Linked DNA regions of Homo sapiens: regions 2, 3 and 4 are each linked to region 1. Evidence: promoter capture Hi-C in human tissues and cell types (Jung and others, 2019). All regions are on one chromosome and are shown on one strand. Each heading gives the region's core, a stretch centred on a gene start or on the middle of the fragment in contact. The rest is flanking DNA. Distances are from core to core; before and after follow the strand shown. Region 1 holds the start of MMD (monocyte to macrophage differentiation associated). Region 2 overlaps TOM1L1 (target of myb1 like 1 membrane trafficking protein). Region 3 overlaps STXBP4 (syntaxin binding protein 4). Region 4 overlaps STXBP4 (syntaxin binding protein 4).

What was found. Contacts are between HindIII fragments. The study calls those that stand out against the background at their distance.
Region 2: a fragment that was not itself captured here is called in contact with the fragment with the promoter of MMD in region 1 in 1 of the 25 tissues and cell types used here (dorsolateral prefrontal cortex).
Region 3: a contact is called between a fragment that was not itself captured here and the fragment with the promoter of MMD in region 1, in 2 of the 25 tissues and cell types used here (H1 embryonic stem cells and bladder).
Region 4: a fragment that was not itself captured here is called in contact with the fragment with the promoter of MMD in region 1 in 1 of the 25 tissues and cell types used here (thymus).

The regions. Positions count from the first base shown.
Region 1 is chr17:55,419,579-55,424,444 of GRCh38, forward strand. It overlaps MMD (monocyte to macrophage differentiation associated), which reads right to left and starts at 2,257. Exons shown (of 7, transcript NM_012329.3): 1 at 2,092-2,257. The coding sequence starts at 2,117. RefSeq lists a silencer at 2,198-2,657. The HindIII fragment of the contact is 18,270 bases long and covers 1-4,866 here.
Region 2 is chr17:54,938,494-54,943,359 of GRCh38, forward strand. TOM1L1 (target of myb1 like 1 membrane trafficking protein) reads left to right here. Exons shown (of 16, transcript NM_005486.3): 11 at 431-527. Among named protein-coding and RNA genes, the nearest start is that of COX11, 28 kb to the right of the region's middle. The HindIII fragment of the contact is 6,558 bases long and covers 1-4,866 here.
Region 3 is chr17:55,089,423-55,094,288 of GRCh38, forward strand. The region is part of intron 16 of STXBP4 (syntaxin binding protein 4); the gene reads left to right. It overlaps LOC107985002 (a long non-coding RNA gene), which reads left to right. Exons shown (of 2, transcript XR_001752943.2): 1 at 1-3,252; 2 at 4,384-4,771. Among named protein-coding and RNA genes, the nearest start is that of STXBP4, 120 kb to the left of the region's middle. RefSeq lists an enhancer at 722-821. The HindIII fragment of the contact is 5,652 bases long and covers 1-4,866 here.
Region 4 is chr17:55,140,079-55,144,944 of GRCh38, forward strand. STXBP4 (syntaxin binding protein 4) reads left to right here. Exons shown (of 18, transcript NM_178509.6): 17 at 1,232-1,289. Among named protein-coding and RNA genes, the nearest start is that of HLF, 120 kb to the right of the region's middle. The HindIII fragment of the contact is 5,724 bases long and covers 1-4,866 here.

The DNA.
Region 1 (4,866 bases), core at 1,007-3,506:
ACACAGCATTAAAAGATGCAGAATAGTACTACTCTCAGCATTTTAATGTGTGAACCACAAAAATCAGGACATTCTCATTACATTACTTTTTGTTTATAGGCTTTATTTCCAAGTTAAAATTGATGCTTAGAACTATGTTTCCAACCTAGCTTATGATAGAAAACCAAGAAATTATGAGATCACACAAATCTTCAAAGAAAATCAGGGTAGATCTAGATGTCATCAAGAAAGAAACTGTTAAATATCCATTGAGAAACACACAAGCCCCCAAGAAAATTACAGTCTATGCCACACCAAAAGAAAATACCTGTATTTTTAGTTTTTAAGTGAATAATAGCGCAAAAATCACATTACAACTGTGCTAATAAGGAATGGAGAGATCAGTGTCCAGCAAAAATAATTAAAAAGTCAGTTCAATAAGCTGAGAGGGTAGCATCCTAAATGAAGTTGTTGTTGTTGTTGTTTTAACAGTTTTAACGTTTGTGCAACAAATAATTGAACAGGGTTTGTTTGTTTTTTTTCTTTTTAGAGGATCCAAAGGTATAGGTAAGAATGACAAACTCTTAATCAAACAAGGAAGGGGCAATTTCACAGAATATTGCCACTGTTCTCTGAAAACAGGAAGAGCACAGACGTGTAGAGAAGTAAAACCAAATCAAACCGCATGCACAGGGCTTCACTGATCATGACTGGAGTGCATGTTACATTCTCTCTAAAAGCCCCTCCGGTCTTCATTTCTGACATCAGGTTCTAAAGTCAGAACACTACGGTTCCATTTTGCCCTTAGACACACCGGTATGAAGTTCCACTGGGGGAACAGTGCCAAGCATTCAACACCCTGACTGATAAGCAATATATTCAGAAGTCAATCCAAGTCTTCAAGCTGATCCCCTTCCTGGTGGCCCAGACCATGGCAACTCTTCTGTGCATTTGTTGCCTCCTTTACCCTTTGGGACTGGGGGAGGAATGAGATGGGTGAGAGGGCAGTGAGGGCATGGAGATTGGAAAGAAAAAAAAAATGTGTACTTTAAAATTCTGAAATAAAAGGTAGTGTCTAAAAACTCAACAACCTTCTTGGAAGATTTCATGCATTTCTTAAAATTTCCCCTGTCACTGCACCCCCAGCAAACATGCTGGTGGTGAAGGTCCGGGAATTCACACAAAGGGATGCAGTTACCATATGCCCTGGAGAGGTGAACTTTCACCCACTTAAACAGAAAAGAAAAGCCCGGAGTTCCTCTCAGAGTCATGGGCTAACCTCCATCCATTGTTAGACGGTGGAGCCCCAGAGGGGAGTAAGGCCACGGCGCCCCCCAGCCCGGCATTTCCACCAGCTCTACAGTGAATGAGCAGTCGGCCAGCCTTCCGGTGGCGCCTCCACGGTTCCTCCTCCTCGTTTCCTAACACCGGCGCCTCCACAGCAGGTCTCGCCACCCGAAAGCTAACATGCCCCTTCGCAGAGCCCAAAAATAGCACCGCCCTGGGACGTTCAGCTGGAGAACCAGCAAGGCCCCTACACGGCCAGGCAGGGCTAAGCTGGCGGAGCGTGCCTCAGTTTCCCTGTTGCTAGGGCCGTTCACAAAGCACCCAAAATGCCTAGCACCCCGCTTTACGACAAATCTCTCCGCAGGGCGCCACCCCGTTCCGCGCGCCCCGGGAGACCCCCACCCTGGAGGTAAAGGGATGGAGGCCAAAGCCAGGTCGGAGGACTCGGGGGCGGTGCCCGGGGCTGGGGTTCGGGTTCCCAGAGAGAGCCAGAGCCCAGCCTGTATGGGGGTCGGGAGGGTGAGCCCCAGGAGCAAAGGGATCCCCGGGAAGGAGGACAGGCTTGGAGTCCCGGGGCCGGGAATCCATCTGAGGTCCGCAGATCGCGAGGGGAGACCCGGGTGAGGCAGGAGCTCCCATCCTTGGAGGAAGGGGATCGCCCAGGGACAGCAGGGTGGGGAATCCCCAGGGAACTGATCCCTGGCCAAGGTGCGGGATCCACCCAGGATGAATCCAGGTGAGGAGCCGGGAGCCGTGCGCTTAACGGCGGGATTTGGGAACCCGCTTCTGACACGGGCAGCGGGACCGGGACGCCATCCCTCTCACCGCTGGAATCGATTCTTGAACCGCATTGATCCTCTGCTCCTCCTCGGGGGCCAGGAGCTCCGTCTCGTCAGCACCGGCGGCCGGGCGCGCGGCCCTCATGGGCTTGGGCTGCTCCGGAGGCCGCCTGCGTGTCCAGCGGAACCCTTCGGCCGGGTAGGGTCGGAGTGGGCCAGGCCGGGGGTCGGGACAGGGCTGGGGCCAGACCGGGCGGCTGGGGGCGGGAGGGAGGCCGCTTCAACGGCCCCAACACCTCCCGCCTCCCGCCTCCCGCCTCCCCGGCTCCTCCGCCCCGGGGCTCCTGCGCCCCGCCCCGGAGCCCGGCTCCGCCCCCGCCGGCTCTGTTCGCCTGCGTGCACCCGCGGTCGCCGGCGCGTCAGCGCGCCGGTCAGCCAATCGGCACCCCGAGCGGCGCGGCGGCTACGCTGCCATTCATTCCCGCCGGGCTCGGGCAGCGAGGCGGGGCCTCGCTGGGGAGGGGCGGGGCGAGGGGAAGGGGAGGAGCGCGGGAACGCGGCGCCCTTCTGTAAGAGACAAGTTGGAGAAGAGATCGAGGGAGGGAGAGAAGTGGTGAAGGAGGAGATGGACCAGGAAATCTTAAAAGCATTGTGAAGAAAATAGCAGCAAACAAGCAGCCCTACCTCATTCATTTTTTCTTCATCATTAATTTCTCCATCCCTCCTTTCATTTATTCCTTCATCATTTTGAGGGCCAGCTCCCGCGAGGCTATTGTGAGAGGATCCAGGGCAGAATGAAAAACCTGTCCTTGTCTGACCCTTGAGGGAGTTGAGATCTCTGAGCGTCTTCTAACTCTGAGATTCAGTGAGATCCACAAAAGGAGGAATCCTCTGCAAGGATCCTTTTATGTTATCCTCCAGTTTATTTTTTATTTTATTTTATTTTTATCCAGGCAGCTTTCAAATAAACGAGTTGACTTGAATCAGGGTCCTGTCGCTAAACCTAAACTCAGAGGGCTTCCTGGAAGAGAAGTTCAAATAAAAATGAATGAATGGGCCAGGTGCTGTGGTTCATGCCTGTAATCCCAGCACTTTGGGAAGCCAAGGTGGGCGGATCACCTGAGGTCAGGAGTTCGAGACCAGCCTGGCCAACTTGGTGAAACCTTGTCTCTACTAAAAATACAAAAATTAGCCGGGAGTGGTGGCGGGCTCCTGTAATCCCAGCTACTCGGGGGGCTGAGATGGGAGAATCACTTGAACTTGGGAGATAGAGGTTGCAGTGAGCCGAGATTGCACCACTGCATTCCAGCCTGGGTGACAGAGTGAGACTCTGTCTCTCTCTCTCTCTCTCACACACACACACATACACACAGAATGAATGAATGGGTGATTTGTCGAGCCTTTCCAGGATCACTGATGGAAGTTATATGTGTTCCCTTCCAGGTATCGTGTCCATACCCAGCCCCCAGCCTGCAGGCTAGAGACTCTGAAGTGGCATGAGGCCAGCCTGCTAGGAGTGCTCATTCGACCTACAGTAAAGCATTGGAAAGCCAGGGAATTCTGTCACCCATAATTCTAGTTCCCTTTCCTTGAACCTTCCAGAGAGGTGCTTTCCATGCTTCAATCTTCCCAAGAGCTCCTCCAGATGGGCATTATCCAACTTATTTTACAGATAAGGCTGAGGCTTATAGTGGTCAATAAACTTGCCAAAGGCAAAAGTAAGGCTCCTACCTACCTTTCGCTAACTTTAAAGACCCACCTCCTTTCAGTACGTCAGACTATCTCTCCCTGTTTTAAAGCAATACACTTCTCTAAAACAAAACAAACAAAACAAAACTTCATCTACCCGCACCCTCAACACTAAATCGGGAAAATGAACCTGGAATGAAAGTCTGCTTCTTATCAGCTATGTTGGGCCACTGGGCTAAAACATCAGTGCGGGAGGGGAAGGTAACAAAGGAGATAGCTAATAAAGATAGATGAAAAATAGCCATGTGTAATAACATAAGAAGGGTTAAAAAATAAAACAAGGAAGCTCAATTGTAACAGATGTACCACACTGTTGGGGGATTTTGATAACAGGAGAGGCTATGTATGTGTGGGAAATCCCTGTACTTTACTCTCAATTTTTGAGTGATCCTAAAACTTCTCTGGAAAAAAAAAAGTCTTTTTTTTTTTTTTTTTAAAGGGCCAGGCACAGTGGTTTGCACCTGTAATCCCAACACTTCGGGAGGTCTAGGTGGGAGGATCGCTTGAAGCCTGGAGATTGAAACTAGCCTGAGCACCAAAGCAAGAGTTCATCTCTAACAACAACAACAACAAAATTAGCCAGGTGTTGTGGTAGGCACCTGTAGTCCCAGCTACTTGGGAGGTTGAGATGGGAGGATCACTTGAACCTGGGCCACAGAGTGAGATCCTGTCAAAAAAAAAAAAAAAAGAAGGAAGGAAGGAAAGAAAGGCAGTGCTGATATATGTTACAACATGGATGAACCTTGGAAACACTATGTTAAATGAAAGAAACCAGTCACAAAGAACTGCAGATTGTATGATTCCATTCATACAAAATTCCATTTATATGTCCCAGAACAGGCAAATCTATAAAGACAGAAAGTAGATTAGTGGTTGCCTAGGGCAGGGGAATGGGAGGGGATTGAGAAGTGATGGCTAAGCGGTACAATGGTTCTTTTGGGGTCTAATGAAAATTTTCTCAAATTGTGATAATGGACGTACAATTCTGTGAATATATAAAAGCCACTGAACTCTACACTTTAAGTGGGTAAATTGTATGGCATAGGAATTCTATCTTAATAAAGTTGTTAAA
Region 2 (4,866 bases), core at 628-3,127, 480 kb before region 1:
AAAAAAAAAAAAAAAAAAAAAAGATTATGGACTGGAGCTTGAGGTGAAGGTAGAGCTCAGTATGTACTGTAATTTTTTACTTTTGTGCTAGGCAGAACAAGATGTAAAATCCTTTGCATTCTGGATCAGCTTGGGATTTTAGAAAATCCAATACAATAATATTTGTTACCCTTACAACAACTTCTTCTCATGGCAGGGAAATTCTTTCTCTCTCTACCTACCATAAATGATGCTTTTTAATTTCTCTTAGAGCTAGGAAATCTCATGATTTTAGGGTGACAGAAATATCTAAATTAATCTCTTTTATTTGGTGGGTTTTTCTTTTTTTTTTCTTTTTCTTTTTTCTTTTTTTTTGTTTTTACTGTAGAAAATCCAGCATAACTGACTGACAAAATGTTTTAAAGCCAAACAAGTCCATTTTGTGTTTTAGATTTCAGCCTTCCAAGTTCTGATGTAACAAACAACTTAAAACCCAGTCTTCATCCACAGATGAACTTGCTAGCCTTGGAGAATACAGAGATACCCCCGTAAGTATGTCAGTAACACTGCAGAACTAATATCATGACATTTAGATTCCTTACAATTAAGAAAACCTGATGGCTGGGCGCAGTGACTTACATCTGTAATCCTAGCACTTTGGGAGGCCAAGGCACATGGATCACTTGAGCCCAGGAGTTTGAGACCAGCCTGGGCAACATGGCAAAACCTCATCTCTAGTAAAAATACAAAAATTAGTTGGGCATTGTGGCATATGCCTATAATTCCAACTACTTGGGAGGCTGAGGCATGAGAATCACTTGAACCTGGGAGGTAGAGGTTGCAGTGCAGTGCAGTGCAGGCGATATAGCACTTGGTACATAGTAAGCCTTCAATAAATTGTCTCTGTTTATTTTTAGTAGTAACAGGAGATGGGGAAGAACAGGGGAAATACAATGACAAAGGAGGCAGAAGAGCAATGAGGTTCAAAATTAAGAGTAATGGCCCCATCAGTTACAGGGTACTTGCTGTGTGGCAGGCACTCAGTTAAGCTATTTTTGTTTATTTCATCTAATCTTCACTAAAGTACTTAGGTCAGCGATGTTAGGTCAGGGTCTTGCTCTGTCACTCAGGCTGGAGTACAGTAGCACCATTATAACTCACTGCAGCCTCAAACTCCTGGGCCCAAGGGATACTCCCACCTCAACCTCTTAATAGCTGGGACTACAGGTGTGCGCCACCATACTGGGCTAATCTAATTTTTAAAATTTTTTGTAGAGATGGGGTCTCGCTTTGTTGCCCAAGCTGGTCTTGAACTCCAGGCCTCAGGTGATCCTCCCGCCTTGGCCTCCTAAAGTGAGCCACTGCACCAGCCTGTTATCATTATTCCCATCATACAGGAAAAGAGACTGAGATTTCTTGGTCATTTCTCTATTGAAGGAACTAGAACTTGCCCAAGTTTGTATAGCCAGTAAGTAGCAAGTCTGATGGACTGATAGTCCAATATTAAAATTGGACTAATAAAACCTGATGGAGTAGCTGGAACCTCCTGAGTAGCTGGAATTATAGGCATATGCCCCAATGCCCAACTAATTTTTGTGTTTTTAGTAGAGGTGAGGTTTTGCCGTGTTGCCCAGGCTGGTCTCAAACACCTGGGCTCAAGCGATCCATGTGCCTCGGCCTCCCAAAGTGCTAGGATTACAAGATGTGAGCTACTGCACCCAGCCATCAGGTTTTCTGATAGTCCAATATTAAAAAGAAATATTAATGACCTATAAACATATGCAATGATGTTCAACTTTACTTATAGAGAAATGTCAATTAAAGTCTAATAAGAAATTGTTTTCTACTTCTCAGGTTGGCAAAAGTCCCAATATTTCATAACATACTTTGTTGGCTATGGAAAGACAGTTACTATGACAAAATTATGTAACTCTTATAGGGGCAGGTGGCAATATCTATTAAAATTATAAATGCATTTATTTCTTTGAATCTGCAATCTTATCTGTAGAAATTTATACCACACTTACACACAGTTAGGTGTTTACAAAATTATTCTTTACAACATTTTGGGCAATAGCAAGTAATTGGAAACAACTCAAAATATCCCTCAGTTGGGGACTGGTTAAATAAACATCTGTACAACATATTACTGTCTAGCTGGGGGATAAAAGTAATAATCACCAATATATTTATTGCTAAGTAGGAAAAAAAGGTGCTAAGTAGTGTGTGTGTAATATATTGCATTTGTGTAAGAAAGTTGGAAATAAGAATATATATTAATATTTGCCTCTATTCACATAAAGAAACAAGAATGATACAGGAAGGAAAAAACTGAAAAAGAGTGAAAGAGTGGTTACGTAAGTTCCAGAAGAGGCAGGATAGAATAAATAGCAGTTGAATTTGCCTTATGCCAATGTCAATAGCTTTTTTCCTTTTAAGTGTATATATTTTAGATAATAGGCAACACATTTTCATTATTCAGATATCAAAACAGTATAAAAAGTTGTATAAGACAATTCTTGTTTTCATTCCCTCTTCATCCTCCCTCTCTCCTTTTCCCTAGTGTCACGCTCTACTCCCACCCAGATAATTATTTGTTAGGTTCTGATTTATCCTTCCATAGTGTCTTTAGGCAAATAGGAATATGAATTTCTTTCTCCGTTATTCAATAAAATGCAGCATACTATCACTGTGTTCTGAACCTTTTGTTTTTCACTTAACATACTTTGGCAGTGTGTTTGTATCAGTGGATTTAGATTTTTTAAAAAGTTTCCTAGTGTTTTGTTTAAATACTTATGTACCCAATCACTGAATTACTTTTCTATATTTAAAAGGGGGAGGGGCAGAGGGAGGAAAATGAGAAAGAAGAATCAAACTGGGAAGAAAAAAGAGCAAAATATAAGGGAAGAAGAGAAGAAAGGATTCATGTGTTGGGAAATGATTAAGTGTCAATGGCTCTTTCATGAACCACTGAGTTAGGTCAGTATCTTCTGTTGGCTACCTCTTGTTTTGGCTACATGCAATGCAAGTAAATGTTGAAATGTAGGCAGATTGAAGTCGCTTGGTAAATAGTGTGGTTTAAAATAGCTGATTCTGTTTGTGTTATCTTGCTAATCTTGTTGGGTAATGAGAGAAAGAATAATACAGATAAAATCCCATTACAACAAGTGTCTATAAAATTCATTAAAAGTCAAATTTCAGCTAATAGCTGCCTGTTTTAATCTGTAACCTACTTGGATCTAATAATTCAGTATGCATAAAAATCACTTGGGTGACTGTCAAAAAGTCAAATTGCTGGTCCCCAGAAACTCTGATTCAGCAGCAAGAATCTTTAACATGCATTCCAGGAGGATCATAATGCAGTGGTTTTCCTATCATACATTGAGAAACCCTATGATGAACATCTATACCAAGATTCGAGGGCGTATACCTGGTTTAAATCATATGCCTAAGATCACTTGTGAGAGGCAAAATCAGCCATTAAAATGTCTTATAATGTTGAGATTTTTTCCATCCCTTTGTTTGCAGTTTAATTTATTCACCATCACAGAAAAAGTGGGTGATGCAGTTTTTCATAACAGAAAGAATCCTTAAAAAACAATAACAAAGAAGACAGGATAAAACATAGGTCATTTTTTTTTTGAGACAGAGTCTTACTTTGTCACCCAGACTGGAGTGCCGTAGTTCGATTTTGGCCAACTGCAACCTCCACCTTCCAGGTTCAAGCGAGTCTCCTGCCTCAGCCTCCCAAGTAGCTGGGATTACAGGCACCCGCCACCACACCCATCTAATTTTTTTTTTTTTTTGTATTTTTAGTAGAGACCTGGTTTTACCATGTTGGCCAGGCTGTGGTCTCAAACTCCTGACCTACGGTGATCTGCCCACCTCGGCTTCCTGAAGTGCTGGGATTACAGGCATGAGCCACTGTGCCCGGCTCATAGGCCATATTTATGACCCATTTACTAACAGGCAACAAGCTAAGAAGTATAGAAATGCTTACTAATTACTTAACCTATGAGGTATGTGCCACCATCATTTTCATTTTAAACAAGAGGAAACCAAGGCTGAGGAAGATTAACTTGCCAGTGGTTGTCCAGCTAGTACTGAGACAGGATTCAAATTTAAATGGGATTCAAAATCAAATTCTGATTTCAGTAACTTCTCTCTTTTTGTTTTTAGTTTTGTACTTTAATTTTATTTCTAAAATTTTCATATACTAAAATTGACCTTTTTTGTTTTGGTTTGGTGTACAGTTTTATTTATTTTAACATACGTATAGATTCAAATAACTACCCCCAGTCAGGATACAGAATAGTTCCGTCACTCAGCAAAACTGCCGTGTGCTATTCCTTTATAGTCACACCCTTGTACCCCTGACCCTCAATCCCCAGCAGCCAGGAGTTTATTCTCTATTGCTATAGTTTGTCTTTGAGAATGTCATTCAAGTAGAATTATACAATATATCATCTTTCTAGAAGAGATTGTATTAAGTTGGTATTTGCTTTATGTGTTTTGAAGCTCATGCATTCGGCTATGTTGGATCTTATTGGTTGATTGAGTCTTTTATCATTATGTAATGTCCTTCTTTGTCCCTCATAATTTTCTTTGTCCTGATGTTGATTTTGATAGTAATATAGCCACTCTAGCTTTCTTTTGTTTAGTGGTTGCCTGGTATATTTTCTTCTGCATTTTACTTGTAACTTAACTGTACTAAAAGATTAGGAGTTTCTTAGAAATAGCCTATAGTTGGTTCATGCATTTTTATATATTCTCATAATCTCTTTTAATTGATATGTTAGGCAATTTACATTTAATTTAATTGTATGTAGAGTTTAGGTCTACTGTTATATAGTTATTCTATGTGTTCCTTTTTTTCTGTTTCCTTTT
Region 3 (4,866 bases), core at 1,172-3,671, 330 kb before region 1:
ACCGGAAACTGTGGCTAAATGTCTTAATCAGCATCTTATCTTTCAGTTGTTTATTGCTAACTGTGAGGAAACTTTTGTCTGTTCTGTCATTATTCACAGTGAAAACAGTCTGAAAACAGAATAGGCATTTTTAATCAGTATTGGAACCCCTGGAGATGCTTCTATTGATCTCCTTATATTTACATGTTCTATATCATTATAATGCCTTTGTGTAGTTTCTATTTGAAATAAAATAGTTTTGAACTACATGTTCAGAACTGCAATTTCTGTTTAACTGACATATAGATTGACAAAATGATTATGTAACAAAAGCATAAAGAGGCAGTTCTATCTTTAGAAATGCATAATAAGAAAAAATCTGGCCAGGTAACCCATATGAGGTCTTTAATAAAAAGAGAATATATTGACTTCTTGTTAAATTGACAGCATAAGCACAGGCCTTTAACTACCTTCCTTCAGGCCTCATGGAAATGATAACTAGAATACAAAATAGGGCAAAAATCTTCAAAAGCACTAGCTGTTACAGGTGAATCCTAAAATCTTTTTAATATAGGAGAGATAGGACCACATGGATGGAAAGCAGGAAGGGCCAACCTGTTACTCCCACTGCTAAACAACAGTAACGATTGTGGGAATAACTGACTGGCAGGAACCCTGGCAGGAGGACACTCTTAATATGTTCTGATTTGAAGGAGTAATGAATAAAGTCAAAGACAGGCTGGGGGTAGGGGGCAGACGATCTCTTTTCACTCTTTTTTATCTTAGTGAGTCAGTGGCATTTGTTGAAATCCTCAGGTTCACACAGATTATTTGTCAAGCAGAAGGACAACTGGGGCTTGATCCTTTAGAAAGTGGAGACACACTTTAGATCTGACAGACACTGGGGCATACAGGAAGCTTTAAATGTAAGAGGAGTTGGCACGACAGCTTCAGCACCAAAAGCCACATCACTCTGCGCAGCCACCTCTTGTTCTAAGTCACTTTTCACCCCACTCAGACTGCTGAGTCATCCTTAAACTCACAATGCAAAGGTACATTTCACCCAGAGGTTTGAGAGGGTAATTCCAACAACAATTTGGTCAAATTTTAGGGCAATCAAAGGGTCTACACATTCTTTAAAAGGTCAAAAACCAGTTCTGAGTAGAGAGCTCTCTAAATTCAAGCTTTTATGAATAAAAATGTATAACATATATAATGTGTATATATACACACACATCTCATTCAGGCTATTCTAGCTCTTATAAACAAATGCATACATATACATATAAATATATGATTGTGAAAAGGTCCACAAATAAAGCCAGGAAATACAGCTCTCAAGATTCATAGTGGACTTCAGGATCAAGATAGAAGAGGGATCTCATGCTAAAACCTTCCCATTCTGCTCTTACACATAGAAATGACATTTTAAATTGTGTGTGTGTGTGTGTGTCTGTGTGTGTGTGTGTGTGTGTGTGTGTGTGTGTGTGTGTTTAGATAAAAAACAAGAAAGGAATATCACCCTGCATCAGAAACAATATGAAACTATCATGATAAGTAGGATTTTAAGCTTCAGAGATTTCACAGAATTGAGATCAGCAATTGGAGCTAAGGTTTCTACACCCAAGAGGCCCTAAATGATGCCTAAGCAAAGGAAGCAAGGAGCGGGAATCCTTCTGTAGAGAATATACTTTATTTTCTTAAATTGCTCATGTATTAGGCATTTTAAAAAATCCCTCCAGTTTATGAGCCATCTGGGCCTGCCACTAATTAAAGTTGAAAGTAAACATTTCATCCACTACAGGTGGGGAATATAAATTGGCATGACATCCTTGGGAATCCGTTTTGCAGTATATATCAAGAGCTTTTTAAATATCCATTTGGAAGGTTTTTTTGAAAGTTAAAATGTTTTTAATGGTCATATATTCTCACTCAATAATCCCACCTGTTACTATTTTTTTTGCAAAAAAGATGTGTATAAGTATATACATGTATTTTTATTACTGCATTTCTTATACAGATTGAACATCCCAAATCTGAAATCCCAAATTTGAAATGCCCCAAAATCCAAAACTTTTGAGTGCAGATATGGCCCCAGAAGTGGAAAATTTCACACCTGACCTCATGTGATGGGTGGTAGTCAAAACACAGGAGCATAACACAGTTTATTCAGCGTCCCCAAGAGAAAAAAAACTAACAAAACAAAACAAAACACCCTCCCAGCCCACTTCAGCTTTGATATATTTTTTTCTGAGCAAGCATGATGGTGATGCCAAACAACCACAGATTGTCCACATGGGTGACCAGAATAGTGACACCTTTACTTTCTGATGGTTCAATGATCACAAGTTTGGTTCACGCACAGAATTGTGACCAGAATAGTGACACCTTTACTTTCTGATGGTTCAATGATCACAAATTTGGTTCACGCACAGAATTGTTACAAATATTCTATAAAAGCTGTGTAAAAGGTGCTTATGAAACAAATGAATTGTATGTTGTAGTCTTGGGTCCCATTCCTAAGGTACCTCATTATGTATATGCAAGTATTCCAAAATCCAAAATACTTCTGGTCCAAGCATCTCAGATAAGGGTACTCAACCTGTAATATCAAAAATATGGATGTTACCATTATTCTAACGGAAGTAACTCAGGAATGGAAAGCCAAACATCATTATCTTTTCACTTATAAGTGGGAGCTAAGATATGAGGACGCAAAGACTAAGAATGACACAATGGACTCTGGGGACTTAGTAGGAAGGCTGGGAGGGGGTTAAGGGATAAAAGACTACACATTGGGTGCAGTGTACACTGCTCAAGTGATGGCTGCACCAAAACCTCAGAAATCACACCTAAAGAACTTATCCATGTAACCAAACACCACCTGTTCCCCCAAAACTATTGAAATAACAATAAATAAATAAATGAAATGAAATACATAACATTTTGAAAATATTTCTATTAACAGTAAAAAAAGTCCTAATTTCTCTCAGTAAAGAAAGATTATGATTTTGTATTTTATTAACAACCATGTAATTTAGTAGGTCTCATTACTCTGAAAAATCTTTGGCATATTATTTTAGGCAACAAAAGAAATGGATGTTCAACTTTTACAGGTTGATTCAATAACTATGTTATTTTTACTCAACCAATTGAAAAATAAGACTGTCAAGCAGTGACCATCTGATTGCATGTATTTGTCTGTGCAAGTCTCCTGCATCACTTCAGATGTTCCTATCTGAAATCAGCAATATATTACCTTTTAAGAAGAATGTGAGTAGTAGCTGCCTTTTTTCTGTTACATCTGAAGCTAATTAGAAGTTACTTAAGCAGATTAGAAAAGGTTTTATGAGAAAAAGGGGAAAGGCAGTACTGTAACATTTTAAAGGCCTTGATGGGATTTATCTTTTAAATTCTTCCCTTCTTTAGGAGCTAAAGCTTAGACTTGATATGGCGTCTTCTCATTCTACTTATTCTGGACCTCAGACATTCATCATTCTTTTCCTCATTTCCCCCAGAGCATATATTTATTAAGAAGCATGAATTTATTAAACAAAAAAACATTTTTTTTGTTTTTTGTTTTTTGTTTGTTTTTTGTTTTTTGTTTTTTGGAGACAGGGTCTCTCTCTATTGCCCAAGCTGGAGTGCAGTGGCGCAATCTCGGCTCACTGCAACCTCTGCCTCCTGGGTTCAAGCGATTCTCGTGCCTCAGCTTCCCAAGTAGCTGGGATTACAGGTGTACTCCACCATGCCCAGCTAAGTTTTGTATTCTTAGTAGAGATGGGTTTTGCCACATTGGCCCGGCTGGTCTTGAACACACACAAGTGATCTGCCCCCCTCGGCCTCCCAAAGTGCTGGGATAATAGGCATGAGTCACCGCACCCAGCCAAAACTGTGTTTCTTTAATGAAAGTCAGCTATACTATTAATATTTAGAATGGACATTATGGTATTTTCCTCTACACAAAGTAATTATGCTATTTCTTCTCCTAGAATTGGGGTGATGTTCCAAGCATTAGATAATAGCTTATTATATGATTCTGTGTCACTTGAGAGAAATTTTACCTGTTTTTGTAAAACAGCCCTGTTCTCTGGTGACTTGATTATTCAAAGCCAGATAATAACCACAACAAATATTTGTGGCATTTTGCCATTCAAGGAAATGGCGAACTCACATATTCTCCTGTGTTGTTTCAAACTGAAAGTAGGTCACTGTTGTAAGGTTCCATTAAGAAAATATATCAAATTTAATCTTGGGAGTTTTAAGTTGGCAAATTATTGCCAGCAACAAGAGAAATAATTCTTTTCCTAGTACAATTTTATTTCCAGAAAAAATGAGTTAAAGAGAAAAACATATCGCTTAAGAAAAGGTAATGATTTACATTCATTATTTCCTTCCTTCCAGAACTATTTGTTGAGTGTCTACAATGGGCCAGACCCTAGGATAACAACACAAACAAGGCCCTTGCTATCAAGCTGCTTAGGTAAATTGTAGTGGGCAGAGATGGACAAGCAAGTTCACAAATAAATAGAAAACGTAATTGTAGACAGTGATGAGTGTTATGCACATAATAAAACCAGATTATGTATTAGGAAAGATGAGTAAGTGGAGATGCTACATTAGATTAATTGACAAATAAGTCTTCTTTGAAGAGGTAACATTGCATCCCAGACTCAGCCAGGAACAAAAACTATGGGAAGGACCTTTCAGGCCCAGTACAAATGCTGTGAGATAGGAACAAACTTGACATACTTGAGGGACAGGAAAAAAAAAAAAAAAAAAGCCAGTGTATCTAATACGTATGAGCAAGCAGGAGAACAGCATGCGATAAGGGTGGATATGTAGCAAGAAGCCAGATAATACAAGGCTTTGAACACCATACTAAGG
Region 4 (4,866 bases), core at 1,300-3,799, 280 kb before region 1:
GGGTCACTTGAGCCCAGGAGTTTGAGTCTAGCTTGGGCAACATAGTGAGATCTGGTCTCTACAAAAAAATTTAAAAAAGATTAGTCAGGAATGGTGGCACGTACCTATAGTTCCAGCTACTTGGGAGGCTGAGGAGGGAGAATCACTTGAGCGCAGGAGTTCAGAGTTGCAATAAGCTATAATTGTGCTACTGCACTCTTGCCTGGGCAACAGAGAGAAACCCTGCCTCTAAAAGCAAGCAAACAAAAATAGTTACCATTCCTGCACTTTTGCTCTGCCCCTTGCTGAGACTTGGGGAAAGGAAGTCAATGATTTGTTGTTAAAGGTCGGTTACTTTCCAGAGAGGTAGGCTACCTGAGTCGTGATAAGCCAGTGTCAAAGAACTCATCCAAAAATTGGATTAAAATCCTTAGCAGTACTTGGATGGAACAGAGGGGTGGAAACCACTGTGTTCTAGAAACGTAACACCCAAAATCAGAATGTAGGAGAATGTGGCTGCCTCAACTTGGGGCTGTTCTCTTGGTATGATGAGGGCCAAAATGTACTCATTTACAGAAATATGGCCAAATATTGCTTGCTTACGTCAATCCACATCTCTTTATAGCTAACTATTCTCAATCCCATTACAGAAATGGAAGCTAAGTTTAGCAAATTGTTTGGCCGTTTATGTTTAGTGCACAAAATTCTTAATTAACAAAGTAAAATGCCACAATCCATTGTAAATCACTTTGCTAAACTTTCAAACTTAATAAGGAATTTTGTCTTGTCCAAAAGCTACTTTCAAACCCCTGCTGATCTGGCACTCATGTCTGATTCCCTGTGGAGCTGAGTGAAAGAATGTAAAGGGAGCCAATTAAAGAAACTTTGAGCCAGAATAGACAAGCAGAGGCCATCTTGTCCATCCTTCTGCCTTCAGGCAAAAACCATCCACTGCAACACAAATTTTTGCTTGAATCCTGCTGACAAAAATGCTCACCACATGTAAATGACAAGTCATAATCCAGTTATTGCAACTAAAGCAGATTGTTAACTGCTCAAGACTTATTTATTGTGTTCTAAAGATGCTGAGTATGAAAGCTCATCTGAATTGTCTTAATTCCCCCTTTCTAGAAAATTATTTTGTATAAGAAATGTGCTCAAATAATTGTAAAGATGAGGGAGGTTTGTGTCCAGGAAATAAAGTTATCTTTATCATCTTATTAAATATATTTTTGGTTTCCTTTCACTGTAGGTTTACCTTATGGGTGGGAGGAAGCTTACACAGCAGATGGAATCAAGTACTTCATCAAGTAAGTACAAGCATCTCAACCAAGTAAGCAATTTTCTTCACATCTGGAGAGAACCTGGAAGTTGCAGAATAATCAGCAAAACTAAGAAACCTTCTTGGAGGTTACAAAAATTAGTAACAAGAAATGAAGCCTCACCATTTTCGTTTCATGTGATTTAAATGCTAATATCAGATATCATTTGGGGGAAAAAACCTGGTAATAATTTCTAGGGAAACATCAAAAAATTGGAACAGGATCATCATTTGAACTTAGGCTGGCTGCCTAAATTCACTTGCTGGCTAATAGTATTAGTGTTTATGAAAAGTTAATACCTAGCAAAAAAATCCGTTTTGTATATCTTTGAAAGTTCTTAACAATAATGCTAATATCAACATTTTTTAATGCTTTAAAATGCACACAGTTCATTCTGCAACTATTTTTTGAGCATTTGCTGTTTGCCAGGCAGTGTTCCACGCCCTGCAGATATAGTGGTGAAATATATAGACTGGTTTCTTGATAGCATAGAATTTACATAATAGAGAGGAAAAACAGACAGTAGATAAATAACTTGAGATAAATAGGACAGTATATGAACAAACCTTACCTCAGTGGATTCTCAGAACAACCTCTTGAGGTATGTATACCTTGTCATTTTTTCTGTTTTATAGATGAAGAAAATAAGAGTCTTGAGTAGTTACCAAAAAATCTATCACTACTTAATTACCAAGTCAGAACTAGAGTCAAAGTCTTCTGACCGCAAGATTCTACTATCTGCACTAGACTGTCACTGATAAAGACCCATCCTTAAAGCCTGAACAGGAATACATTTCCTAGATGCTGAACTGGTTAGTTTTGCCCTGGACAGAGCACTGTGATATACTTCTACCGTTTCCTGAAAATTCCTTTTATGTCAGAATTGACATTTCGAGAGCACAAAGGGGAATCCCAACAGACTCCTAAGAGCCCAGGGGACTCCTTTGTGTATCCTTTTAGCAAAGTATACTTGGTATGCATTTTGGGAGGAAAAGGGAGACATGTCCTTGCTATCCCCTTTCAAATGTGCAAATATTTTACAAAGCAATATCCAGATTTTGGATTCTCATGCCCCGCAACTTTACACAGTTCCTACATCTCTGTTAACCTCAGCTTTCACATCATATACTGAGGGGAATATTACCTACTTTATAAAGTTGTTTAATCTTAAGTACCTAGCATAGAACTTGGAACACAGTAGATGCCCAATAAATAGCCATCATGAATTTACAATATGGAGAAACCATCGTGGAGGGGAAAAAAAACCTGAACAATCATATGACCATTAAAAACATTGAGAATTCAAAAGCTTTGTATTTGAAAAAATTTAAGGAAAAACTAGAGATAAACCTGGCAAAGTGTTTTCATGCTGAATTTTTTTCTTGCAATCTCTAGCATGAAGTGATTAATCAGGCAAAGGTGTTGTTTATAACATTTGAAAGAAAATGAACTTTTGGCATAGAGGACCCAGGAATTCCATGTGCAGATTACATTTAGTGCCACACTCTTTACTTCCAGAATCAGACCTCTTCTGGAAGGGGCTCTCTAGCATGCAGGATTAATCATGTTTAGTTTCTGGAAGATTTGAATCACTGTACTGTAGGAATGGCAGGAAAATGAAAAAATGCATTCAAATCTGTGTTGCATTTCTTTCTTTCTCTCTTTTTGATATTAACTTTATAAAGGAAAAGATGAGGGCATGAGCATTTACTGAGCACTAGCTTGTGCTTAATAGCCAGGAATATGCTAGGTGTATTTCTCTATGCATTATATCATTTAATGCTCTTAACAATGTGGAAAGTAGGTGTTGCTGGGCTCTTATTGGAATGGCATTATGATGGTAGTGAGCTGCATCTTGCCCTTAGCCATGCTTTCTCCTAGAAGGTTCCCCAAAGAAATGCATGATTAAAAGAAAGAAAATTAGCATTCATTATTAACTGGGGTTCTGCATTCAGGATCCTTTGAAATGTCAGTAAATGAGTCTGGATCCTGTGGGGAACTCCTTTACCTAAACCTAGCTGTCTGTCAGTATATCCTAACCCAGAGTTGAATGTCAGAATCTAACTAGTGCCTTAAGAGAAAAAAATACTAGGGGCACAGTTACCCAAAACAGAGAAAGCAGGAACAAGTGATGGTCAGCCAGAGAGTTGGTTTGTCTCCTTACCTGTTACCCAGCTAGCTTAAGCCACTGTTCTTTGCAGCCTGGAACAATAGCCTTGGGCTGGTCTCCCACTATAAGGGAGAATAGAGTCCCAGAAGAGGAGATAAAAGGGAGTCAATAAGCCCTTTGGCTGCCCTGGGAACCAACTCAGTGTCTGTGGAAAGAACAGAGAGATGCTACATTTATCCTAACCCCATTGCTTTGCTCGGAAAATATACCCCCAAAGGGTGTGTTTTGGAAGTCCATCAATTTTTTGTTTCCTTGACCTTAGTCTTGACACATAAGGAAAACAGAAAAAGAGATGATAAAATAAATGTATTCCCCAAAGGGCCATAGTAGATCTTATTGTCTTACCATTTCATTAGGAGAAACTGTTAAAAGAGGCTGTAGTCATCAAGGTCACACAGTAATAAAATTGCAGAGCCAAGATTCAGATCCAGGGTTGTCTGGCCCCAAAGCCACCTGCACACACACACACACACACACACACACACACACACACACACACACGCCTCACCACCTCTGTATCCTCATGTTAATATAGTATGTTGACATGTGACAAGAAAGACACTTCAAACAGATCTTAATTTAGGAAGAGCTCTATACTTTATCCATTTTAAAACAGCAGAATAGAAACTTGGTTGTAAGAATAAGAAGTTGTCTTCCAGAGATTAAAAAAGTCAAAGAGTAGAAATAGGAAAATCTAACAATATGCCATTACTTCTTTTACCCAGCCTCATGAAGGAATGGGGTGTTTGGCATAAGTTAGTTTTTTTTTGTTGGAACTTAACCCTATTCAAGCACCAAGACTTATTTTAGTTAACTGTTCTTGATGAAAGTCTTACTTTAATATATGTTACACACTTCCCTGACTTCTTATACAGAGGCCAGTGAACAAAATCCTTATGAACATCCATCATTATACACAATACAGTGAGTTCTACAGGGGATATTACGCTGTATAAGACACAGTAGAGACACAGCTGTCATCTCTTGCTTCTCTCAGTGTCCCTGTTCCTCTCCTCATGACCATTCTCTTTGCCCACTCTCCACAAGCCACCTTCTTCCCCAGTTTTGTACTTGAGGACAGGATGCCAGATAATGAGGCTAATTTGAACTGCTTGTAAATAGCCTTTGAATGTGGTTCTGCAGGAGTGCTTATGTAAGTCAAGTATGATACATAAGTTCTGTTGCAGGTGGATTTGATTACAGGAAGGCCATCTGGTATCAGGGAAAGAAGAGCATGGGCTTTGGACTTGGAGAAACTTTAATTAAAATGACACTGTCTACACAAAATAGCTAAATAAAATAGCTAAACCTTAGGCACATTTACTTAACCTCTCTGGGATTAATTTCTCCATTTATAAAAAGGAAAGTATATTAGCACTTCATAGGGTTCCTGTC